2 separate regions of the Homo sapiens genome follow, and region 1 is linked to region 2. The links are contacts of gene promoters, found by promoter capture Hi-C in blood cells and fetal thymus (Javierre and others, 2016). All regions are on one chromosome and are shown on one strand. The core of a region is centred on a gene start or on the middle of the fragment in contact, and the rest is flanking DNA. Distances in the headings are between cores, read along the strand shown.

Region 1 (3,953 bases), core at 1,155-3,654, 270 kb after region 2:
AGTCATTTAATCTCTCTGTGCCTTGGTTTTCTCCTTTACAAAACGTTACATAGTAAGAACCTAGTAAGTGTGAGGTCTCACTGTTGTACTGGCCATTCACACTTTCCCTCCCCTATCAGACCTTAGGCTCTCAGGGCAGGAGCCACAGCTTACTGCGGTATGAGCCTTCTAGCCTGCAGTGGATGCATTTCCCACAGCACACACGCCATCGTTTTTTGTGGGATAGCTGAGTGTTTCACAGAGCCAACCCGATAGCCCTCCAGAGGACCGGCCTGCAATCCCAAAACTTCATCCTGAGAGCCGCAGCTCTGAAAGCCGTGTTTGCGGGGGAGTCTGAGAGCATCTCTCAGGTGCCACAAACTCATTTTAAGGTGAAGTAACCAAACACACCAGTGTCTAGGTAAGACCCCACTTCAGGTGTGGATAAAAGGAAGATGCCTTGTTCTAGAAGAACTTGTGGTGGGAATCACCGCCCACAGTTCAGCCTTCCGCAGTCTTGAGGCGGCAGCACCACCTTTTGCCCCCTGCTGAGGCACGGAGACCACCTGCAGACATGGAGGTTGTGAAGGGGGAGAAGCCTGCAAGGTTTCCTGGGGGAATTATTCCTGGCGATGGGAGTCCCACCGTGGGGTCCCTTTTGCTTCCGTTGCAGGGTAGCAGAGAAGGGAGAGGGTAAAGAAAGGAGCTCCTCTCATTCTCCCTACAGACCCACCGCACCATGTAATCTCTCCTTCCCTTTGGAGGTGAAAACAACAAGAGCACAGGGAATATGCAGAGGACGTCACAGGATGTGCCCATCAGAGAGATGAGCTTTGGAGACTTCCAAGCAAGTGGACTTTGAATACGGTCACAGGGCCCTGGGCTGTGAACCCAGCATCTCAGAATAGGCTTTACTTACACAGTGGTCCCCCAGCGAGGCTGTTCAGGAGCTGCTTATCACCAGTGCATGAGGAGGTAAGTTCAGGAATTTAAAATGTGTATTTAGAAAATCTAATGGCAGTTTGACAAACTAACTTTATTCTTGAATCAAATAATAAAAAAAATTAGGACTTATGGTTAAACTGTTGTGCAAATTGGCTGCTAAGGTGCACAAGAGAACCTTCTGGATGATGGAAAAGCTCTGTATCTTGTTACTGTTTGAGGTTAGACAAGTATATGCATTTCTGAAGATTCTTTTTTGAATAGTACATTTAAGATCTGTGCATTTCACAGTATGTGAAGTATGCCTCAAAAAAAAAAATTCGTAAAAATATTGAAACCTGGCTGGCCACAGTGGTTCACGCATGTAATCCCAGCACTTTGGGAGGTCAAGGTGGGCGGATCACTCAAAGCCAGGGAGTTCGAGACCGTTCTGGCCAACATGGTGAAACCATGTCTCTACTAAAGTAAAAAAAAAAAAAAAAAAAAAAAAATTGAAACATCGTCCGTGATATGTATACTGAACTGTCCAGGGGTGAAGTGCACTAATGTCAGCAACTTACTTTAAGTTCATAAAAAAACAAAAAAAAACAAAAAACAAAAAAAAAACCAAACTTGGATTAATGGATAGAAACACGGATCAATAAATAATAAAGCAAATATAACAAAATGCTAATGGTAGGATCCAGGTGGTGGGTATATTGGTGTTCACTGTACAAAGCAATTATTTCGACTTTTTATATATTTTACAATGTTCACAGTAACACTGTTGGAGAAAATCAGGCCTTGTATTTTCTATGTCTTTATTGTGTCTTTCTAGTAACTTTTATTGCATTTTTAAAAAGTAATGGTCTGTAAAAGCTTAGGGGAAAAACCTGGTTCTTGGACACGGATAGTTTGCAAAACAGTCTAGAACCCAACAGAAAAGCCTGAAGCCCAAAGTCTCCACAGAGCCCCCTGGCGCCCAGGGGCCTTAGTGCAACCTTTTTGATCTAATGGCAGATGTAAAAACGCTCTGTGAAAGTCAGTGAGGTTGGGGTCCCTTTCTCCACTGGCCTCAGGAGGAAAGGAGGGACAGGACATAGGTTAATGGAGTGGATCAAGTCCTGCCGTGATCAGAGATAAAATTCCAGAGACCCTCTGACCGGATCTAAGAGTGGTTCCCCAATTTGGCTGTGAATGAAAAGTATCTCAGAGCTTTAAAAAAAAAAAGTAGAGATTTCTGATCTAGTCCAGATATTCAAAATCAGAATCCCTAAAGGGTAGAACTCGGTAGTGTGTGGGGGGGTGTATGTGTAACAAATTGGCCTGGGGGTTCTCACGCAGCTAGGCCACACTGGTGAGGTCTGAGAACCACTGCCAGAGAAAAGGTGACCAGCGTAGATCAGAATCTCATTTTGCTTTAATTTTAAATTAGATCAGAGGTTCTCAAATGGGAGGGTGCATCAGAACCACAAAGGGATTGTAAAAATACAGATTGCTTGGCCTCATCCCCAGAATTTGTTTCAGAAGGTGTAGCATGAGCTCCAAAAGCGTGCAAGTCTAATAAAGTTCTCAGGCAATGCCGATGCTGCTGACTGAGGGGTACACTTTGAGATCACTGCTTTTGTTCAATGGCTACAACTGAAATGGGCCTTTTTGCCAGATTCTCAACTGGAGGTCTAGGCCTGTGCTATGCTGTTCAGTATAGGGGCCACTAGCCACATGTGGCTCTGTAACTTCCAAGTGAAATTAATTAAAATTGAATAAACTTGAACATTTAGTACTTCAGCCATGGTACCCACATTCCAGGTGCTCAGCATTCACTGGTGGCTGGTGGCTCCCCTAGTGGACAACATAGGTCAGAACATTTCCATCATCATGGAAGGTTCTGTTGGGGGGCACCTTTGCTCATTTCTTCAGGTATCATCACCCTTCCATGTCGATCAGCCTTTTGCTTAGACACGAGATTTCACAAAACCAACCAAGCACGTCTATGGCTTTACACACAGAGGTTTCATTTTATTATTTAAAAGTTTCTTTGAGGACCTACTATGGAAAACTACTGTGCTACGTGCTGTGTGAGCCACAAAGATCGATGGAACAATATCTTTACCTTCAAGTAAGCTTATAAACAAGTTACGAAGACACCTGTACACTTTATACCTATTGAGATTTTACTAGAAAACTCTGCCCACTAAGTGCCACCATTCAAAACATAGTAAAGCAATTACCAACCAATCAGAAATGGTTCCAGTCCCAAGCAGAAGGGCTGGTTACTCCCACAAATTAATAGAGTAATAGTGGCTAGCATCAACTGGGCCCTCACCGCGAGCCTGAATAGTGCACTAAGCCTTTGAAATGAATGGGGATGGTATCAGTGCTCACCTCACAGCCCTGCACTTAAACATGTCACATAGAAGGCACTGGAAATCTCCAAAGTGTCAATTTGAGCACCTTTTCTAAAAAATGACCGGCACTCAGGTCTTGCGGGGAGAGGTAGAAAAAGACAGGGAAGATCTATATTGTTATTCAGTTCTGAGAAAACTTTGAAATGTTCTGACTTTCCTTTGTCAATTTTACAAAAGTTTTCCTAATTTCCACTTAATCATCCACTCTTTTATTTGGCAGCATTCTCCTGAAACTTTGGTTTGAGGGCCACACAGGAGATTCAATGTGAAAACTCCCATAGTACTCCTTCCTCTCAGCTTCTACCTTAACTAGTTTGGGTTTGTTGTCATTCAAAACTAATTAAACAGAGGTTAATTTTCAGAATTGGCAGCTCTTAGGTAATTTTAGAAGCTCAATTTTACTTAAAAAAAAAAAAACTCTATGTGTGGGCTTCACATTACAAAACTACATGCAGGGGGATCATTGGTTGTGGTAATAGAAACTCAGAGGGGAAGTAGGCATCAAAGGAATATAAATACATTAAATCTCTTTCTCACAGACACACAAAACAATTTTCTTTTCAAATGCCAAGAGAAGTAATGTAATGATCTGGATATTGCAGGTACCAAATTCCTGCTCTTGAAGAAAGGGATGGATGGAACATT
Region 2 (3,832 bases), core at 110-2,609:
ATTCCACTAGTTCAATTTTTTGAGTTCACATTTGTTTCTCATTCTTGGCTTAGCTGATGCATTCCAAGCTTATTCTTCTAAATTATTATGTATTTGCCCCAAGCAAAGAACTTTTAATGCACAGAGTTTATGGGCTATTCTCTATAACTTTAAGGAAAATGAAATTATTTATACCTGGAGTAGGAAATCCTTAAGCAGGATAAAAAAAACCAGTTGAAATCAATAGTTGCCACATGATAATACATTTCTATTCACAAATGGCCTGGTTCCAGGTAAAACTTCAGGATACAGAGAATGCTAGAACGTGCAGCAAAATGAAAGCCCAGACCACTTAAGTAAACTTTCCAGTCTCTTGTTAATAGCTGAGTAAATCTCTGGGCAATCCTCAAGAGGTTCTTAGAAGTCGTCCCTCGTTTATATCTAGAAGGTTCTTGTAATTGTCTTGTAAATCTCCAAAGATATTTAGAGATTACTTTGCTTTAAATAGAGACCAAAAATGACACAAAACTAAAGCTGGACTATTGCCTGGTACACTATTTCTACCTAGTGCAATTTTTAATTTCTTAAAAATCAAGTGATCTGACAGCACAATACTTGTCAAGTACTTGTCATACTGAGATGTTTCTTGCCATCCATATGTATATTTTTGCCAACTATATTTATTGACTATTGATGCTTATTCCAGGTGGCTGAGTCACCCCAATGCTTGGAGGAAGCAAGCAGGGTACAAATCAATTGATCAATGAAAACACTAACGACTGACTTTTAAATCACAAAGCCATTTTAGAGTATAAGTAAATACCTGAAATAAAGAAGGCACTTCACTCACTCCTTCTCTTCCATTCCCATCAACTTTTGTGGGTAAATGCAATAGGTAATTGAAAACTTAATATCACAACCCCTAAATAGTCAAACAGCCTCTAGTAACTTGTTTCTTCCTGGAAAAGATGAATCTGATCCCAATTAACTTAAATAAAACAAACCAAACAAAACTCTCCACTACCAGCCTGGCAGCTAGGGAGGCATTATTGGGTCTGAATGTAGGAAATCAGGAAATACTTACAATCAAGATGAACGTGCCCAAGAACTCAGAGAGGGTTTCTTTCGCTAAGCTGCTCTTCAAGACCAGTCTCTGCTTGAAGCTTTTTCCCTTTTCTGCTCCCTCAGGCTGCATCTTGGGGCTTCTCTGAGGACTCCTGTTTCTACCAATACCTACCTGTTGTGGTCCTCACTTTCACAGCCAGATGAAAATGGACGTTTTGACAATGGCTCACAGATTCCTGGAGATGTCTGGTAAGAGTCTCTGACTGTACAAATGCCGTTCCAATTAGAGGCTGTGGCTTAATCGTCTTCTGGTGGAACTGTCATTCCCTGTTCGCTGCTATTTGTTTGAATCTGCGACTTAGAACCCGAAATCCCCAAAACAATCCCTTTTGTGCCTGACAGATTAATCATTACCTTTATTCTCAAGGTACTTTTTTCTCTGTTGGTTTTTTTCAAGAGATGAGAAAAGAGATGTGCCAGTTGTGTTGCCAAATCACAGTGACGGGCCCTGGTCCAGAAAAGATTTTCATGTTACACAATTGCAGGCTTCTGATTTTTTTTTCTTCTCATTCAGAAGTGGGTGGTTGGGGTGTAGTTTGGAACTGTCAAATCAGGTGTAGATATATCCAATGTTAACATTCTTTTCTGAAAAAGGTTTTTATGCAAAATGAAGAATTTGAAGAAAATATAGATTTATCATCCTAGAAGATTAATCACTCTTGTTTTCTTCTGGTATCATTTCAGTGGCTTCATGATACCACTCTGAGGTTAGTAAGAACCACATAGGCCATCCTAGAGATGGAGAAATTAACATACAGAGAAACCATTGCAAGCTTCACACTGCAAGTCTGTAGGACAGATGGAGTCACCTCTTCGGTTATGAAACTGGGCTTCACTTGCTGAAGATACTTTAGGATCCAAGAATCAGAAAGATGGAGGAGTCACCTTTTTGGTGACTTCTGAAGTTTCTTCTGAAGAAACATTCCAGTTTGGGTTTCTTCTGAAGAAGCATTCCAGTTTGAAAATAGTCACTCTTCTTCATTCACCATGAAATATTTAGACATAATACATAGGAAATAAACAATAGCAGCTTGAAATTCTTTACTGCATGGAGATGACTGAGCCGGAAAGAGATCAATTAGCGTGTATGTCATTCTAATCAAACGAGAAAGGGAGCCAGTACACCTAACCGAGGCTCCTAGGTTATACCCTTTCAATTTGATAAATTGACATCCTTGCTGGCAAGAAACTGTGTTTGGGAGTAGCTCCTTGTCCTGCCAAATATTCAAGCCTTGTTTTTCAAAACTGGCTTATCTGAAGAAATAGAATATAGCATTAGTTTCTAAATAGCAAGGCAGGCCTAGTTTCTGATTACCAATGTGGACTCATGGAATTAGTATCCATGCTGTGTGGTTCCTTCCAGTCCTCCCACAGGGAAGCCAGCTCTGCATCAGGCCCTCCCCTAGCTTTGCAAAAAGGGAGGGAGGAGAGGACATGGAGAAAGCAGCTGGTGAGAGGCCAAAGGCAGAAGGAGACTTCTCATCTGTAGGTGACATTTAGAATTTAGACTTTAAAAAGTTATAACCTGCCTGAGGCCACACTACTGCAGAACCAGGACAAAACCTCAGCACTTTGGCTTTAATTCCTGATGAAGTTATCATAAATACCATTGTCTAGAAGAGTTACCTATGACCACACCATTACCAAGTCCCAGTGGATGGACCAGAGAAACAGGACTTTCTTACTGTGACTACAGCTAATAACATGCAAGAGCGTTCTCTGGTCTTCCCATTCACTCATCTAACAACTATTTACTGCACACTCATTATGTGCCAAGCACTGCACTTAACAAGAGCACATAGGGTTCTTGTCCTTCACAGAGCCTAGAGTCTAGTGAAGCAGACAGATGTAAGTGAAATAATCCCACACACATAAATACAAAATCACAACTGAGATGTATGCTGCAAAGATGGGGGCCATATTTCCATAAGCAAATATAGCAAAAGGATTTGACTTTGTTGGAGAGATCTCTGATGGCTTCTCCAAGGAAGTCATGTGTGGACTGAGATCAGAAAGAAGCATGGGATTAACTACATGAAGTGGGGAAGAAAGTGCATGTACAAAGTCCTTGGTGGCTTTGGGGGTAAGGGGTAGGGGACAGCATGATGCCTCTCAAAGAATGAGAGAAATTTACTGTGGTTGGCCCCAGAGAGAGTGAAGGAGTACAGCATGCAAAATGAGCCCTGAGGTGTGGGCAAGGGTCAGACCTTACTAGGCCTTGTAAGTGGTAGTTAGGGCTAAAAGTGTAAGTCATTAAGGTGGTTTAAGCAGAAATACGACATGATCAGATTAGAGTTTTGAAAAGATCCTCCGAGCTGTGAGGTGGAGAGGGGATTGGAGGGGGCTTGGAATGGTCATAGGCAGATACATTTGGGGGTATTACAGAATTCCAGAATTGGGTGGTAGTTTGACAGTGGAGAAATGGAGGGATCCAAGAGTTCTTTATATCTTAAAATTGGAAGAATTTCATGGATTAGATGTGGGAGATGAGGAAAAGAGACTGAGAAAAGTTGGTTCCTGAGTTCCTAACTTGCTGGGGAAGGTGCTGCTGAGCCCTGGGAGAGGAAATCCTGGAAGAGGACCAGAAGTGCAGTGGAAGATCATTAATTCTGCTTGTGCAAAACTGAGCCTCAGAGGCTTCTGAGCGATGTAAGTTAGGAAGTGATATGGGTCCAGATGAGGAAGGAATGTCTGTGTGCTCATAGTGGTGATAACTGGAGCCTGGAGT

What was found. Contacts are between HindIII fragments. The CHiCAGO score rates a contact against its expected background, and 5 or more counts as called.
Region 1: a contact is called between a fragment that was not itself captured here and the fragment with the promoter of AQP9 in region 2, in 2 of 17 cell types (M2 macrophages and M1 macrophages). The highest score is 5.8, in M2 macrophages.

What each region holds. Positions count from the first base shown.
Region 1 is chr15:57,864,275-57,868,227 of GRCh38, reverse strand. No RefSeq gene overlaps it. Among named protein-coding and RNA genes, the nearest start is that of POLR2M, 160 kb to the right of the region's middle. The HindIII fragment of the contact is 1,245 bases long and covers 1,782-3,026 here.
Region 2 is chr15:58,135,908-58,139,739 of GRCh38, reverse strand. It overlaps AQP9 (aquaporin 9), which reads right to left and starts at 1,359. Exons shown (of 6, transcript NM_020980.5): 1 at 1,064-1,359. The coding sequence starts at 1,174. The HindIII fragment of the contact is 735 bases long and covers 1,145-1,879 here.